Regions from separate parts of the Homo sapiens genome. Here region 1 is linked to region 2. Evidence: promoter capture Hi-C in 16 types of primary human blood cells and fetal thymus (Javierre and others, 2016). All regions are on one chromosome and are shown on one strand. Each heading gives the region's core, a stretch centred on a gene start or on the middle of the fragment in contact. The rest is flanking DNA. Distances are from core to core; before and after follow the strand shown. Region 1 has its middle 250 kb from the start of ANKRD30A. Region 2 holds the start of CUL2 (cullin 2).

Evidence for each region. Contacts are between HindIII fragments. The CHiCAGO score rates a contact against its expected background, and 5 or more counts as called.
Region 1: a fragment that was not itself captured here is called in contact with the fragment with the promoter of CUL2 in region 2 in 1 of 17 cell types (total B cells); the score reaches 5.2 in total B cells.

The regions. Positions count from the first base shown.
Region 1 is chr10:36,868,646-36,873,034 of GRCh38, reverse strand. No RefSeq gene overlaps it. Among named protein-coding and RNA genes, the nearest start is that of ANKRD30A, 250 kb to the left of the region's middle. The HindIII fragment of the contact is 3,386 bases long and covers 773-4,158 here.
Region 2 is chr10:35,088,293-35,092,146 of GRCh38, reverse strand. It overlaps CUL2 (cullin 2), which reads left to right and starts at 1,806. Exons shown (of 21, transcript NM_003591.4): 1 at 1,806-1,968. RefSeq lists an enhancer at 1,386-1,525 and silencers at 1,444-1,632, 1,686-1,885, 1,906-2,035. The HindIII fragment of the contact is 6,346 bases long and covers 1,470-3,854 here.

The DNA of each region.
Region 1 (4,389 bases), core at 1,216-3,715, 1.8 Mb before region 2:
TTGGATGATATTTATTAATATTTAGAGGGAAAAGTGGTCAGAACACCTTGCAGGGCAATGCAAATGCACCTACTCTTACGGACGTACTAAGAAGCACTAAGTGAAAGGAAAGGCCAAATGAAGAAGTGAAACACACGTTTGCTAGGGATCTGGTAGTACTTGGTTCTGGTTTCAGCTTTGTTGTGTATTAACTGTTTAATCATCGACAAAATCACTGACATCCAAACCTCTGTTCTTCACCCATGTGAGATCTTGTTGGAGCTGTGTTCAGGGTTACATAAAGCTGTGAATGAAAACGGCAGAGAAGAGAACCCAAACAGATAAACATAACAGCATCCCAGGGACACAAACAGCTAAAACAGGCAGTGATTACAACCAAAGTATTTATATGAAAGAACAGGTTCAAAGATGACATATCAGGACAGATTTCCATCACTGCAGACCAGTGATAGAAGGCTCCAGACTGGTTTAACGTAGGACATGAACCCATGTTTTGTCATCTGTGTCTCCTGAGCCATTGGAAAAAAGCTACAAGAAATTTTTGTGTTTATTGAGACATGAACAATGCATTGGGAGGACTTGTAAGAAAAACGAAGTCACTTTGGAAAAACTGATTTACTGTACTTTACTTTCCTTAAATACGAATTAAACCAGAGAGGCCATGCCAGCTACAAATTTACTAAGCCATACCAAATTCTTAAGGCAAATTGATAGTTTCATAGTCCTACAAACGGATCCTTGCCCAGAGGAAATAGTTTATTCCTTAGAAGCTTCACCATAGCCAAATGCACAGATTGAAAACTATTTGGTATGTGTACACCAAGTGCCGTTTAAAAGGAAGTCAATTTAGCAACAAGTAATATTTAAATACCAATTTTTGGAAATAGAAGAATAAACACATTTGTTTATCAATCTTAAACTTTCAGTTTAAGTGATATATTGTACTTTTTTTTTTTTTTTGAGACTGAATATCACTCTGTCTCCCAGGCTGGAGTGCAGTGGTGCGATCATAGGTCACTGCAGCTTCAACCTCTGGGCCTCAAGCTGTCCTCCCATCTCAGCCGCCCAAGTAGCTGGAACTACAGGCACGTGCCACCTGTAGAGACAAGGTCTCACTATATTGCCCTGGTTGGTCTATTGTACTTTTTCAAGGAAAGAAATGGGAAAATAATTTCCTAGTCTAAAACCTAACTTTAAAAAATGTAAAATATAAGACACATAGAAGAGACATGCAGTGTATATGTGGAGTTTACAAAAATAACATAAAATGTTGTTGTTTTTTTTTGAGACAGTTTCACTCTTGTTGTGCATGCTGGAGTACTATGATGCCATCTCAGATCACTGCCACCTCTGCCTCCCGGTTCAAGCAATTCTCCTGCCTCAGACTCCCGAGTAGCTGGGATTACAGGCGCCTGCCACCATGCCTGGCTAATTTTTTGTATTTTTAGTAGAGATGGCATTTCACCATGTTGGCCAGACTGGTCTCGAACTCCTGACCTCAGGTGATCCACCCGCCTCAGCCTCCCAAAGTGCTGGGATTACAGGCATGAGCCACCATGTCAGGCCAATAAAGTGTTACTGAGGCTGTATCAACCATGTGATGCAGTTGATTTGAGAAAATGTTTGGGGCCCCAGTACTCCCCTTTCAAATTGCATTGCTCTGCCTCCTCATCCCCACTAGAGGTAACTATCATCTAGAACTCAGTCTGAATAATAAACACACATGCGATGAGATTTAAAGTCACTTATCCATATATAATCGTATGACATAGGTGCATGTACCACCCTTCTTTAGATAAGGACACTGTGGCATAGAGATATTGGACAACTGACCAAGGTCAAGTAAGTCACGCAGTTAATTAGTGGTAGAGCTGGAAGCAGAGCAGTTTAATTCCCGAGTCTGCACTTAAAATCTCCATGTTTTCTTGCCGCTATAATCATTCACCATTCGTCAGTCACTTTCTCTTTTATATAGTTTTAACACATATAAATGTATTCCAAGGCTGGGCGCAGTGGCTCACGCCTGTAATCTCAGCACTTTGGGAGGTTGAGGCGGGCGGATCACCTGAGGTCAGGAGTTTGATACTAGCCTGGCCAACCTGATGAAACCCTGTCTCTATTAAAAATACAAAAATTAGCCGGGTATGGTGGCCCACGCCTGTAATCCCAGCTACTCGGGAGGCTGAGGTAGGAGAATCGCCTGAACCCAGGAGGCGGAGGTTGCAGTGACCCGAGATCCTGCCATTGCACATGGCTCACACCTATAATCCCAGCACTTTGGGAGGCCGTGGCGGGTGGATCACCTGAGGTCAGGAATTCAAGACCAGCCTGGCCAACATGGTGAAACCCCGTCTATACTAAAAATACAAAAATTAGCCGTGTGTAGTGGCACGTGCCAATAATCCCAGCTACTTGGGAGGCTGAGGTAGGAGAATCACTTGAACCCAGGAGGTGGAGGTTGTAGTGAGCCGAGATGGTTCCATTGCACTCCAGACTGGGCAACAAGAGCCAGACGCCATCCCAAACAAAAACGAACAAACAAAACAATAACAGAAACAAAAAAAGAAAATGTATTCCCAAACAAAATATTGTTTATTCTGGCCTATCTTTTATATTATGCAGATAGAGTCATGTTTAATGATTTTCTCTGTGACTTATTTTTATTCGTCAGTTTTTTTTTTCTGAGATTCATCAACTAGTTACTTGAAGCTCTAGCTCTTTAATTTTATTGCCAACTCTGATTCCATTGTATGAATAGTCTATTTTTTTCTATGTCCATTCTTTTGTTGATGTAGATTTTGAGCTGATTATAGTAATATTCTATTATGGACAATGCTGCCATACACATCCTTTTGTTTGAACATCACATAAGTTTATTTCAGGTATAAACACTGTTAAAATTGACAAGTTCAATTCTTTTTTTTTTTTTTTGAGACGGAGTCTCGCTCTGTCACCCAGGCTAGAGTGCAATGGCGCAATCTCGGCTCACTGCAACCTCCGCCTCCCGGGTTCACGCCATTCTCCTGCCTCAGCCTCCCGAGTACCTGGGACTACAGGTGCCTGCCACCACGCCCAGCTAATTTTTTGTATTTTTAGTAGAGGCGGGGTTTCACCATGTTAGCCAGGATGGTCTCGATCTCCTGACCTCGTGATCCGCTCACCTCAGCCTCCCAAAATGCTGGGATTATAGGCGTGAGCCACCGCGCCCGGCCGACAAGTTGAATTCTTAACTGTACCAAGTAAACAAAAGTTTAAGTGTTTTTTAAAGTTATTCCCTTCAAAAAACGGAGGGAGCTTTTCTTTTCCACTACCACACACCATGGTCCAATCATTCTCCTATTGGAGGACTTTTAAATTGATGAGTAAACTACTTTGGAGACATTTCAGAACTTCATTCCCCGAATGAAAACTAATCTGAACGAACTATATATTGCATAGATATCTCTACAGATTATTTTTTTAGAACCTAAATGCAATTTCCATAGAGTGTTACTTTAACCTATTTGCCATGCAGGAAAAAAACTATCTTTCTTGAAAAATATGATGAATATATCTTGTGATTTTCCAGTTAAAAAATTGTTTTACCTCAAAGATGTTAATCATCATATATCAAAATAACCAACTCAACATGGGACATTACTTCAGTCTTTACTGACTCACAGGCACATGAGCTTGTGTCCAGCTTATATGAACTCTTTCCCTCTTCCATACATAAATGGACCTATTTAATACAAGTTTGATGAAGGACAATTAACTATTTTTAAACACTTAAAATTTAGATTAAGTCATTAACTAATGTGCAAAGAGAAATTCTATAATGGTAAGAAGCCTACACATTCGATTCAACAATTTAATTTTTTTCCTCCTTAAATAACGTACTTAATTGCCATAAGGCAGTGAATTGGTTTTCATAGAAGCTGGGCACATGTAGGAATACACTCATAGGACTGATTAGATATTCCAGGTGAAATGGCTATAGAAACTGAGGCATATCATCTCAGAAAATGCATTTATATATCAAAATTTATTTCGATATCTGGAAAGTTTACAAAAAGGCTGCATACTTCAAACTAATTCTGCCTTCTTCTCTTGGCAAGAGTAAGCTGAAACTTACCCATGAAGGTGAAAGTGCTCAATGCTGAGCTTTTCTTCTAAGCTTAGGTTTGGACTGCTTAAGAAACTGATACCCAGAAAGCCATCAAGGTCTTTCTACATTTTTACCATCTTTGGATTAGGACTCTTTCAATTCATTTGTCAACTATTTTCTCTTTCTGAATTATTCCTGGCACTCAAGACTGTTGAAGTCTACTGCACCTTGTACTTTTACATGGCCAAATGAAAACTTAAGGTTATAAAGTGTGCATAAACATTTTATAAAGTAATTTTGTC
Region 2 (3,854 bases), core at 557-3,056:
CCCATGTCTACCAAAAATACAAAAATTAGCTGGGTGTGGTGGCGCACGCGCCTGTAGTCACAGCTGCTTCGGAAACTGAGATGGTACACTCGCTTGAGCCCAGGAGTTTGAGGCCGCAGTGAGCTATGATCAGGCCACTGCACTCCTGCACTCCAGCCTCAGCGACAGAGGGAGACCCTGTGTCAAAAACAAAAACAAAACAAAACAAAAAGCAGGGGGGGCCTGACACGGTGGCTCAGGCCTGTAATCCTAGCACTTTGGGAGGCTGAGGTGGGTGGATTGCCTGAGCTCAGGAGTTCAAGACCAGCCTGGGCAATGTGGTGACATGGTGAAACCCTGTCTCTACAAAATACAAAAAATTAGCCGGGTGTGGTGGCGGGCTTCTGTAATACCAGCTACTCGGGAAGCTGAGACAGGAGAATCACTTGAACCCGGGAGGTGCAGGTTGCAGTGAGCTGAGATTGTGCCGCCACTGCATTCCAGCCTGGGTGACAGAGCAAGACTCTGTATCCAAAAAAAAAAAGGACCAGACATATTGCATTGTTAACAAACTAGTTGTTAACCTTATGACCTCTGTAAAGGTCTCAGGGATTTCCAGAGGTCTGGGGACCACACTTTGAGAATCACTAGATTAAAAGGGGGAAAACATGGGAGGAAAAAAAGGTCACATAATGGAAACATACTGTTGGATTGAATTTCGTATATAAAAACCCTTTACTGAAATAAAGAGTAGAGACTTCAAGTACCAAGAGAAGCAGATTAGAAGAGGAGGAAGGCTCTAGGGACTGATCAGGTCTGGAGGCAGGGTTTTAAATGGGCCTTGAAGGGTTCGTGCAGTTTGGAAGGAAGGGATGGGAGGGAAAAGCTTGCTGAATCGTATAAATGAACAAGACCCTGATGGTGAGCTCTTGAGGATATGAAAGGCAAAAAGCACTAAGGCCGGGCTTTTGTTCCTCTGTGGCCCTGCATATATGAGGAGGTGATGAGTAATTCTATATTTTTATCAGCTTTACCGTTTAAAACTCCAAGGGAGGAAAACCCTTCAAACTGATAGGCTTGGGGCTTGGTGAAGGTGGGGTATTAGTGAAAAAGATGTGAAGTTTCTTTATCGAAAATACATGTATGTCCAAGAAATTCTCTGTAGATAAAAACTAACAAGAAAAAGAGTTTGTCAGAGAGGAAAAGTAGTTTTGCTAATTTATTTTTGATCATTTGCAAAGCCCATGGAAGTGTGTGGCAAGAGGATTGTGGTGTCTTAGGATATTCACATAGGTCTGAAACAAGGAAAACATACTTCTGTTGAAAGCACCATTCCAACATATTGTTATTAGCAGTCCCTGAACTAACGGGTAGTGGGTGGGTACTGTGTCCATCAGCTCAGCGAACCGCAATTGCCTCATTGACAGCAAGCCCAGCAAGGAATCACTTGGAATATTAATTTCCGTGGCCTTTCGCAATCACACGAAGCTTGGCTCCCTGCGCTTGCCGTAACGCGGCCTGTACCATTGCTTTCCGGGTGGCGGGGGGGATTTGGCAGCAGCGGAAGAAGGAGACCGGAGGGTGTGTGTTGGGCAAAGCCGGAGGCAGAGGAGGACGATTGTTTTACGGATCCCGTGATCGGCCCGTCCTTCTCCCCTTTCCCCCCCTCCCTACCGCCCCTGTCCCGCCGGGGAGCGGCGGCGGCCTTGGACTTTGCTGTCTTTCCTCGCGGAGACAGGTGAGTGTCGGCGCGCGGGCTCCCCGGGCTTCGCTCCCCACCCCCCGCGTCTCCGGGGCCGGTGGCGGCGGCCGGCCGGGGAGGCGGCCTCGGCGCACAGTAATGGCAGCGCTGTGAGCAGGGGAACGCGAGCTGACAGCCGCCGCCGCCGCCGCCTCCGCCCACCTTCCTCGCCGGGGCTTCGTCTTTCACTCCTTCGGGCTGCCTCCCCCTCCCCTTGTCCCCTGCCCCTTGCCCTGCTTCTGCAGAAGGTAACCCCGCTGAGGGTCGGGGAGCCGGGCTGCAGGCGCCGGGAAACTTCCCTTCCCGGTTAATGGGTGGCGGGGCTGGGGCGGAGGAGAGGAGTTGGGGGCGACGAGGTGTGGGGAGAGGGATGAAAGGGGGAGGCCCGGGAAGATGGTATCCTGTAAGTGACCTCGGCTCCCCAGAGCGCTGACCCGTAAGCCCTGCCACCCCCTGGACTGGATCCCGGGCCTCCCCAACCCGATCTTGGCCGCCTCTCCCGCGGCCCCATTTTCCTTCGAAGGAGGGAAGGTGAGAGTGCGTGTATTCTTCTACATATTTACGTGCTCACACGAATACACAACTCTGTGTGTTTGTGTGTGTGTGTGGGGGGGGGCATCTCATGCATCCTTACCCCGAGTGTTTTCACTTTTGTTTCCGCAGACTGCAAAGATTGATAGCTTTGGGGAGGAGTATCCTACGTGCATGCTAGACTTCTTGTCTCAACCCTTAGGGTCTGGTGAAATAAGATCCTCACACGCTTTCTAGCACTTGCTTACCCTCTAGAGAGTCTGGACCATTCCCTACCATTACGTGCATGCAAATAAAACATCTGTGAATTGCAGACTGTTATTAATGTTAAGTCCACATCTTTGCCCCATGGATTAATATTAACAGTTGAAGGCCAGTACCCTGGGCGTTTAAATTTTGAAGATAAGATGCAAAATATTAACGTTCGCTATAGATTGTGACTGTTCAACATAAACGTCTTTGAACTAGACCTGGCCAAGCCTACCTTCGTAGTAAAGTATCGGAAATAATCACTTTGATCTGATTGACAACTGACTACATAATAATCGCTTAAAAACATTCAAAACACTGTTGCCTACCCTTTAGAATCTTACATTCCTTTTCAAGACAGACACATGAACAAATGAGCTATACTTTGCTTCTTTTGCCCTTATACAGTATCTGGAAGATCCTTCCAAAAGAGTCGCGTGAGATAAGAGAAGTACACAGTTTTTTTGTTTTGAGATGGAGTTTTGCTCTTGTCACCCAGGCTGGAGTGCAGTGGTGCGATCTCGGCTCACTGCAACCTCCGCCTCCCGGGTTCAAGCAATTCTTCTGCCTTAGCCTTCCATGTAGCTGGGATTACTGGCATGCGCCACCATGCCCGGCTAATTTTGTATTTTTAGTGGAGATGGGGTTTCACCATGTTGGCCAGGCTGGTCTTGAACTCCTGACCTCAGGTGATTCGCCTGCTTAGGCCTCCCAAAGTGCTGGGATTACAGGCCTGAGCTACTGCGCCCAGCCCACAGTGTTTTGAATTACTTGTTTTTTTCAATTGCTGTTTATGAGTTGGGGGAACATTTCTACAATGTGCATGCACATAGCGTGGGAAAAATTCCTTTTCAATTGCTTTTTGAGTATTTGGATGTTCTCCTGCATCTGAAATACTCTTCATTCTCCATCCTTGCTGGTGGCTTTCAGTGTTCTATAAATGTGAAGATTATCCATGTCTTTTACCCTCACCAGTTTGTCACTAGATTAAACGTTATGGACCTTCTTTAAAGTCATTTTTGCGTTGTCTGGCAGTTGACAGATATTTATTAAGCACCTGGTTTATTTGTCAAGCAGGGCTGCAGGCATTAAGGTTACAAGGGTAAACAAGACACATTACATTTCTTTTTTTTTTTTTTTTTTTTTTGAGGCGGAGTCTCGCTCTGTCACCAGGCTGAAGTGCGGTGGCACGATCTGGGCTCACTGCAACCTCCCAGTTCAAGCAATTCTCCTGCCTCAGCCTCCTGAGTAGCTGGCACTACAGGCGCACGTCACCACGCCCAGCTAATTTTTGTATTTTTAGTAGAGACTGGGTTTCAACATGTTGGCCAGGGTGGTCTTGATCTCTTGACCT